Regions from separate parts of the Homo sapiens genome. Here region 2 is linked to region 1. The links are contacts of gene promoters, found by promoter capture Hi-C in blood cells and fetal thymus (Javierre and others, 2016). All regions are on one chromosome and are shown on one strand. The core of a region is centred on a gene start or on the middle of the fragment in contact, and the rest is flanking DNA. Distances in the headings are between cores, read along the strand shown. Region 1 holds the start of OXSM (3-oxoacyl-ACP synthase, mitochondrial). Region 2 overlaps TGFBR2 (transforming growth factor beta receptor 2).

The links. Contacts are between HindIII fragments. The CHiCAGO score rates a contact against its expected background, and 5 or more counts as called.
Region 2: a contact is called between a fragment that was not itself captured here and the fragment with the promoter of OXSM in region 1, in 1 of 17 cell types (naive CD8 T cells). The highest score is 11.6, in naive CD8 T cells.

What each region holds. Positions count from the first base shown.
Region 1 is chr3:25,786,619-25,791,474 of GRCh38, forward strand. OXSM (3-oxoacyl-ACP synthase, mitochondrial) reads left to right here and starts at 3,472. Exons shown (of 3, transcript NM_017897.3): 1 at 3,472-3,529; 2 at 4,372-4,856. The coding sequence starts at 4,403. It also overlaps a transcript of NGLY1 not described here. RefSeq lists enhancers at 2,951-3,480, 3,620-3,689, 3,700-3,769 and a silencer at 3,298-3,517. The HindIII fragment of the contact is 1,038 bases long and covers 2,806-3,843 here.
Region 2 is chr3:30,656,971-30,661,764 of GRCh38, forward strand. The region is part of intron 3 of TGFBR2 (transforming growth factor beta receptor 2); the gene reads left to right. Among named protein-coding and RNA genes, the nearest start is that of TGFBR2, 53 kb to the left of the region's middle. The HindIII fragment of the contact is 1,257 bases long and covers 1,257-2,513 here.

The DNA of each region.
Region 1 (4,856 bases), core at 2,222-4,721:
AATGGATTCCCTTAATAGCTTTATAAATGGCAATATTCAAAAGAGATTACAGTTACTCAAGAACTTTAACAGAAGTGTTGCTAAAGAGTTATTTGGAAGGACTTAAATTTCAGATGATTTTTTTAAAATGGTGATTTCCATGATTTTATGGACTGTACATTGTTATCACAATATTAATGCTATGGCATTGGTTTTCGCAAAAGTCATTTGGTGAGAAATGCACAAAAAGTGCATGTGTACTATCAAATGTAAGGATAAATGTTGATTTATTCATTCCATAATTCATTCATTCATCATGTATTTATGAAGTGACTACTAGTTGCTCAGCACTGTGAAGGAGACAAGTATGGTCCCTACTTTCATAGAAGTCATAAGTTTAGAGCAGTGGTTGGACAAGCAACAGCAGCATCAGCAGGAAACTTGTCAGAAAAACAAATTCTGAAGCTCCACATTTAAAGGTGGGACCCAGCAATCTGTGTGGTAACAAGCCCTTCAGGTGATTTTGATTAACAGTAAACTTTGAGAACTACTAGTTTAGAGGGAGGAAAATTTCACTGTGGGCTGCAGTTTCAGTGAGGGGGGACAACTTGAACAGAAGCCTTAAATTGAGAGGTTGAGAAGGTGAGAAAGGAGAGGACTTGCTACCTGTGAGAGACTCCCCACCCTCCTTAAATCATGTACAATATCCTAGTAACGTTTCCTTCTCAACATCTCCTGGATCTCTCCTTGCCATTGCCTTCAGAGCCTCGTGTTTCATCCATTCTTAACTTTCTTCCCTGTGTCCATTTCCACATCCTTCCAACCCACCCTGCTCATTTGTGCAATAGTGATCTTTCTAAAGCACCCATCTGATCATGTTGTTCTCCTGGTAAAAAGTTTTCTATGGCTCCCTCTATCCACATTCTAAAGTCAAATGGTGTCAGGAACCAGGCTGGTAAGTTAAATATTTTAAGTGGCTTTGTTCAAGACAAAGAGGAGTAAGAGAGACTCCAGTGAAGGGAATGAGAGAGTTTACCATGTCCTTTCTAGAGGAGTTTAGAATCAATAAAAGAATGTTGCACTCCAAATTATACCATGAAGGCTAGCATATGGTCTCTGAACTACGGGATTAAATCCAAAGTCCTCAGTATGATACCCCAGGCTTTTGTGATCTGGGCCCTGCCTTACTCTCATGCGTTTACTGTTGCTTTGTCCCACACTTCAAATTTGACATGGGCCACATATTTAGCTGTTTGTGGAAGATACCATGACACTTCATTTCTCCAGGCCTTTGTTCTCCTCCTGCCAGGATGCCCTTTCCCACCCAATTTACTAGACAAACATTCATTTCCAAGATGCAGTTCAAGGATCATTTCTCTGAAGCCTTTTCTGACTTTACGAGGTAGCACAGACCTCATTGTCCCTTTTGTGTTATAATAATTCCACTATAGCACCTGTTTCAACAGTTTGCACTTACTTGTTTCTATGGGTGTCTCCCTTTACTAGACCATAAACTTCTTGAAAGCAAGAGCCATACCTCTACTCATTTTTGCATTCAAACTTCAAGCATTGATAGGAAGAAAATGAGTGGTTGTTGAAAATAGCAAAAGCACAGAGATGAGAAAAGTTAGGGTCAATCAAGACATGTATAGTGAGAAAATCAGTTTGCTGGGTGGCAAGCTCATTTAATAGAGAATGGGAGCCATAATTGGAAAGATAGTTTTGAATCAGATTACAAAGAATTTAAGGCAAACCTAGGAAGTCTTAATAGGAGGGTAGGATAAGCAGAGCCCATTTGAAGATTTTGGTGCAAGAAGACACGATGGAATTGTAGCAGGAAATATGGTACCAAATATGTAAAGCCATTAAATATCATAAAATTTCCCACCCTTTTCCAGATCAAAGAAAAGGTGATAAGAGGTAGATACAAAAATGATGGTCTTTTTATTTTTCTGAAAGATTTTGTCACCTCTTAGCCAAGACGATTTTGTGATATTACAAAAGAAATAGCACATTAAAACTGTATGTTTCTTATGAGTTCAGCTTCAGAGAAAATATTGTAGGTATTTTCACACTATTATTTTAAAGACAGCAATGAAAAGAGATCAAGTTTAGGTACTTACTCATCAAGTGTTACTTTATAACCACATGTGTTTGTTTTAATTCTTCAAGAAACTCTACTTTGTCACTGAATGAGGATCAACTAGAGGTGACTGGTTAGGCCTGGGACGAAGGTCAAACTGAGCTTTGCTGAATTATTTTAAACAAAATAGATTTCCAAACTCATTTAAATCCAGGACCAACCTGGAAAGCTAAGCTTGACTCACATTCTTCTGTAGGGGTAGGAAAGAATGCAGAGCACTCTACTTGGAAACAATGGCTTCAAGAGGCATTGCCCAGAAAAAACCATAAATATGACTAGAAGGTCCAGATGAAGATTCTATGCTCAACCATTTTTCTAAAGAAGAGCAAGGACAAAACTCACGCCTGGGATAGCATGTGAAAAACAGATGTTCGATGAATACCATCTTGTCGACTTCTTGCTTTTTTACATTTTCATGTTATATTTTCCCTTTATCGGTTTGCAGTCAGCTCTAAGCAAACAGTTAATGAATTTTTCACACTTAGAAACAAATGTCTCCATTGTGACAATGGAGACAATTTTTGAGCACTGTCTCAAATCTGGTGATAATTTTTTTTTAAGTGAAAGGAAGTTTATTAGGAAAGTAAAGGAACAAAGAATGACTACTCCATAGGCAGAACAGCCTGGTGACAACTTTTAAAAAGTAAAAACTTTATTACAAAAACATTTGTTTATTGTAGAAAAGCTTTATTAAATAAAGCTAAGCAAAAATAAGGAGGGAAAGATCACAATCAGTATACATCTTGCAGACCTTTAAAGAATTATTTTTGAAAAAACGGATATATACTGTTTTGTAACTATGTCTCCTAACAAATAGTCGCAACATCTCATTAATAAATATTCACCTGCAGAATTATTTTAAACGGCTGCATGGCATTTGGATGTACCACAAGATACACAACAAATTTCCTGATGTTGGCCATTTTGGTTAATTCCACTTTACTCACAATTACTAATAACGTTGCGAGCTATAGCAATAACTTTGAAACTGCAGAGAATTTCCTTAATTCTTTCTTACAATTCCAGTAGAATACGATGGTGTCCCTTCTCCGACAAAAGGGAATATTTGGGCATTATCACTGCCAAAGAAAAATGCCTTTTTGATGGGTGAAAATGCTACCTCATCGCGTTATTGGCAGGTCCTCGATTATCGGCGAGTCACTGAGGTTCCGAGAGGGGCGTCTCTGCTCACGCAAACAGCTACCCAGCCGCCTCCCACGGTCTGACCTCAGCCAAGGTGACGCGGCTTAAAGTCAACCGGCGGAAAGAGAGTCGAACGGGACGCGTGCGTGGGAAAGCGCATGAGCGTACGTGCGAGCGCGCATGAGCGTACGTGCGTGTGCGCGTGCGCTCGAGAGCGTCATCGCCCCCGACTGTGGAGAAGTGTCCGGGGTAGCCCCGTTACAGGTATCGCTGGCTACCCTCCTCCTTCGCCCCTCCTTTCCTCCTTTACATTCAAATCAAGTCGGGGTTGAATTTCGAGAGGGGAGTCCGAGGACCTGGGGCCTGATTTCTTTTTCTCTCGCCATGCTTCTTCGGGCTGTGTACATGTGTGGTGGTGCCTGAGAGGCGATACAGGGAATGGCTACACTCTTTTACTCCCGCCCCTGGCCTTCGTAGTACCCTTGAAGTGATCCACTAGTCGTAACCCCTCCTTCCACCAATGATTCAATTGGAGAAGTTTAGAGGAGTGGAAAGACTTGTCCCCTTCCCCCATCGCAAGCTTGGTCACAGAGTGTATTGCCAACCCATGTATCCAGACGCTCAGTCTAGGGCTCTTGGCCCTGGGTAGCGTTTTGAAAAGGCTGGTTATCCTTAAGTACTGAAGATTGATAAAGCCCACTTACTTACTTAAAAGAATATGCCCTGAAATGTGTTTTCTGTGCCACTGACACCAGAAATGCTATTTAGAAGAAGTTATCAGTAATCCTGACAAAGGATGCTTCCTGCAGCTCAAATCAGGCTGGAGGTGCCTTTATATTTTTCATTGAATTACTGTTTTGGTGACTCGAATGAATCATCAATTCATTTATTTGTCTTCAAATGTCTGACGGCACTTAAGGTCTAAAAAAGAAGGTAAGTTTAAACAGATAGTTTGATGTTAAGGTATAAATTGAAAGTATGTAACATTTTCCCTGTGTTCATTAGCAGCTCATATCAAGCACCCAAAGGAACACCTTGGATGTTTTTCCTTAGGCCCTTAAGCTATTTAAAAGAATACCTCCTAGGTGTGTTGTGGTCTTTTACAGGAATGTGTTTCTGATCATCTGAATCTTAATCATGTCCAACTGCCTGCAAAATTTCCTGAAAATTACAAGCACTCGTCTTCTATGTTCAAGATTATGCCAACAGTTAAGAAGTAAAAGGAAGTTTTTCGGAACTGTGCCAATATCCAGATTGCATAGGCGAGTTGTCATTACAGGCATTGGCTTAGTGACTCCTCTTGGTGTTGGAACTCACCTGGTTTGGGATCGTCTTATCGGAGGAGAGAGTGGAATTGTTTCACTGGTTGGTGAAGAGTATAAGAGTATCCCTTGCAGTGTTGCTGCTTATGTGCCAAGAGGTAGTGATGAAGGTCAGTTCAATGAACAAAACTTTGTGTCCAAATCAGATATCAAGTCCATGTCTTCTCCCACCATCATGGCCATTGGGGCTGCAGAATTAGCCATGAAGGATTCTGGCTGGCATCCTCAGTCAGAAGCTGATCAAGTGGCTACTGGTGTTGCAATTGGCA
Region 2 (4,794 bases), core at 635-3,134, 4.9 Mb after region 1:
GTGTTGTCTTGTTTCATAGACTCATTACATTTTTATGATGAAGTGAAACCCGTGAATTGGCTCCTCCAGACTTCTCATTTTAATGACAAAAAAGTGGGTCTCCAGAGAGGAGCTGGGATTTTCCAAGATCTCATAGTTTGTTCCTCACTTTTTGTCCGTAGGAGAATCATAGAAGAACCAGATAATCTTGTCTCTTATAGAAGGAATACCCTTACCCTTCCACATTCCCGTGGTGGTGGTGTGTTTGCTTTTTTATCAGTCTTAACCCATGGGAGGCTGCACAACTTACATAAGAGGCTACCTGTTCTGTTTGCCAAACGGCAGCCCAGACCCATCACTGAGCATGTCCTTGGCAAGAGGCACAACCTCAGGCTGACACTGTTTCCATGTCCGTGAGAAATGATGTGTATAAACGATGGCCAGTAAGATGCTCATCTGTTGGGAAGACAACAGAGGGCAGGGCTGAGAGCATGGCTTCCCTGCTGATTGCCTGTGTTCAGATCCCAGCTCAGCCGTGTGTAAGCTCTTGGTTCTTGGGGTAACTACTTGTTTACCTCTCTGAAAAATGGGAGTAGAAATAATGAATACTTTTAATAGGATTATTTTGAGGATAAATGTATTTATTTATGTAGAGAACTTGGCACGGCACCTGGCACAGAGTGAGCACTTAATGAATTTTGACTGTAAATAGTTATTACTGTTCCACTAGATTCAAATTTCTTATCTTTGCCTTTAGCTGGATGAGTGAGGAGATTTGTACCAACGTCATGTATTCTCCTCTTCCCTGCAAATTCCTCCACCTGAGTCCTATTGAGGTGCTCCCCATTATAAGGAGTCCTGTGAATCAAAGTGGTATGTTTACTGTAAAGAATGTGGAGGATGCTGTTCACTGCATTGTATTGTTATCTTCATGAGGAAGCCAGGAGACATTTATTTTGGCTCTCTGTTTTAGAAAGGTGTTCTCCTCATGACGACCTGTTTGCCTCTGATCTTAAGGACACTTTGAAGCATACCGAGCAGGGGTCTGCAAACTTCTTTGATAACAGGCAAGATAGTAAATATTTTCAGCTTTGCAGGGCAGAGTCTCTGTCACAGCTACTCAACTCTTCTGTGGTAGCAGCCACAGACAGTGTGTAAGTGATTGGACGTGGCTGTGTTCCAGTACAACTTCATTTACAAAAACAGGGCTCAGGCCAACCCCTGATAGAGATATTCATGGTTTTTGTGTTTCTCTCTCAAATGCTAACTACCAGAAAAGCTTAGAGTCAAATCTGAATCATGCTTCTAGCAAATATGTACCTACACATTTAGCATACTAATATCACTCTTGCTTACCAGTTTTTACCCTGTTTTCTCACATTTATATTCCATTTGTCATAATTATAGCTCCTGTCTTGACTGTATCTTCTTTCACTGTGTTTTTTGTTGTTGTCGTTGTTGTTGTTTTTGGGAATGGGATAGGACTGTAAGTAAATAAATCAATTATATCTTGCTAGCTTAGAAACCAGGACTTGAGTAACCACTTCTGACTCAAAGTTCAATCTATGTGGTTAAATAGGGAAGCAGACCATAAGATGTATGCCCAGTGGTGCACGTTGCTGACTCGCAAGCTATGTGCAGGCTTTAGCATTTAGTGTGGTGATGTGTGCCCTCTAACCTGAGATGTTGAGAGAGGGGCAGAGAAGAAGACTTCTTGTAGCCACAAAGTTTCATTCCTTCCTCTCTCATTGTTGTAGCATTTCTTTTAAGTGAAAACAGCCTTTTTGGTTTGCTAGCCTATCTCTGGCAGGAAGACAAATTATTTTTTTACAGTATCAGACACGCGGTTTCCTGTCTATGTTTAACTTGCTAGCAGAACATCTCAGCCAGCTGGTTCCCTCTGGACCCATTGTGTCCTTAATGTCGTTGCTTTACACCATCCAGCAAACCCACTCTGTGTACTGATCGCATGCATTGAGCATTTTGTTGACTTCCGTTGTTTTCCGAGTAAGGGAAGTCTTAGAAATGCTGCCCTCTTTCTCCCAAATCTCATTTTATGTTTGTTCAGCTCCAACACCAGGGAGCTGGCTTCTTGGGGAAATGATTAGTTCTTGCATGTAAGAAATGAAAAGAGTAAATGGTGTTTTGGTAGCTCTGGGGGATTTTAGGTATGCTGCCTTGGAACTGTGCACTCACGCCTCAAAATAGCTGGCTTTCCAGCTGTGCATTTTTGTTTCAAAAGAAACAAACCAGATTTACTTTCTGGTCTAAATGCAGAAGAAAAAATAAGTGTGGAAATATGGTTGAGAAAAGTTGTTAGAAGAGGAAGAAAATTATGGATTAAAGTTGCTAGTCTCATTCCTGAGAAGAGAAATCAGTTATTTGAGGTGATGACTCAGAGCTGAAGCAGCTTTTTGTTGTGAACCAGCCTTGGTTAGAAAGCACACTTGGAATTCATCAATATGGCCCTATGTCTGGCCAAGGAAATAATAAAGATTTTGCATGATAGAGGACACTGTGACTCAGTTGAAGGAAGCTTAGAATGTATTTGAACTGAATTAAGGCAAAAGCAACTCGCTTTTCAAGATTTTTTTTTTTCCTAAGTAGCAAAGTAAACAAAGCTGCACTGAGGCCAGATGTGCTTTCTGGTTGTGAATATTTGTACTCTAGAACCTCATTCTGGTATGAATCAGCAGAGTGGAATCTAGTATGGACACAGGCTGTCTCAAATTCCATCCACTGGATATGAGTGGCCAAGAAAGCAGTCGGACCCATACTGCTGGTGCTGTAGCAAGGTTCGGGTGGTTCCTCTGCAGCCTCAGGTCTCTCCCACTGCGGCCTCCATGTGTTCCATAAACTCCACACCCATGAGTAATGGCAAGAAGGGTCCACTGAGACCTTTTGCTGCTTTGCGAGTGTCTCAGTGTCCCACCAGGGGAAAAAAAAGGCTCAGGGAGGTGGCTAACCACTGTGAAATTGACTTTTATTTCCACCCACGTATACTCCAGAGGCTGTATTCACCACCATTTGGACATCTGGATGACTTGCCTTTGGAAAGTCCTTTTGTATTCTAAATCGCTCCTGCATGTTACCTGTTGTGGAAAATATCAATTTTGCCATTACAAATTATGCTTTTTTTTAAAAACATGTTAACTTTTAGAGAAATAATTTATATTTGCTTATCTACTTTTAAAAATATACATATATATGCCTTTTGTTGCCTAATTAGAGGATATAGTTGGTTCCAATGTCAAGAACAATTTCTCTGAAATGTAGTCATTAAAATTATTCCCATGTCTTTCATTTTCCAGGCCCCATCCTATTCGAAATACCTGTTTCTTCCACCAGGCTGATGTAGTTATGCTTAGGCTTGGCTGCACATTGGAAACACCTGAGTAGCTTTAAAAACTACTCATTAACTGGGTCTTACTCCTGCAGTTTCTGACTTAATTGGTCTGGGGCCTGGTATCAGGAATTATTTTTTAATTCTTCAAGATATTTTAATATGCAGCCCACATTGGGAACCACTGGACTCAAGACAGTTTGTTCTGCCAAATCTTTTTATATTTTTCGTCACGTTCCCCCTGTAGCCTGGAAAGGGACGGTAACAATTAAAGAATGGCAGCTACCACAGGAAGGAGCCAAAATTATGCCTTCGAAGGTTAGAGGAGGAGAAAAACCAACACCTGTTTTACCCCATCCTTGGAGGAATAGCAAGACACTTTAAGAGGGGATATTATTTTGTTTTCTACAACAATTTACAAGCAATTGCTTTGGAACAAGGTCAACGGCCTCATTGGGAATAGGCATCTTAGCTTTTAAAACTGATTAAATTATACGTTAAAGGAAAGCACATTTTAAACCTTAATGTGTCCAAAAGGTTGGATGGCAAGGTTTGGGTGCTACTGCCTTGGCAGAGACAAGGCAGGGACCAGGGAGGCTGTGTGCATGATTTTAGGAGGTGAGAAACTCAGGTGGGAAGGAATTGCAGAAGCCTGTGGTTCACCTGGAAAGCCAGGGAGAGAGAGAGGATGTATTCTGGTGACCTAACAGGTATTGTGAATAATGAATATGCTTTTCCAAAGCGATCTGGTCTCCCTGTTGGAGAGCATCCTGAAATAACTTAAGAAATGTACCTTGCTTTCAGGTTTCCTGAGAACATGAGGGCCCCTAGACAGAGTACAAGGTGTAATTCAGACAGCCAGCCAGAAAAAGAATTAAAGAATCAGGGCAGGTGTGGGGATCCTAACAAAACCTAAGCTTTTAGTAGTCAGAAAACTGCAATAACACAGAAAAGAAAATGAAAAAAAATCTTGTTCCAAAGAACATATATCAGGTGTGAAACTCTCTTTGTGGGAGGACAGATGTGTCATCATTTCCTGGACAAAGCCTGGTACCTTGTAGGCACCCTCCTAATGTTGGTTGCCCTCCTTTTAAAGTCAGAGCAAGAGAAGTAGCAGGAATCTATATCCTAAGGAGGAACATAAAGGGTGAAAAGCACAGTGGAAGGGATGCCTAAAAGAGCAAAGGCTGAATCAGGGTTTTAATGGCCTGAAATGACCAATTTTCTAAAACTTGACAGGTAGATGTAAAATCAGACATATAGGTTCAAACAATCGATTGCAAAGGAGCACTTGTCAAAACACTGGCTGGGAATCTGCTCATGTGATGAAGACCCCAGGGTTTAGAGGTGAGTTAAGGTCATTTTGAAATCAGGATGATCTGGCTGAAAGAATCAAAACAAAACAGAAAGAACAAACCATCAGGAGCCTTAAACTCCACTTGGTGGAAGAGGAGGTGAGAGTCCTGCTGTAA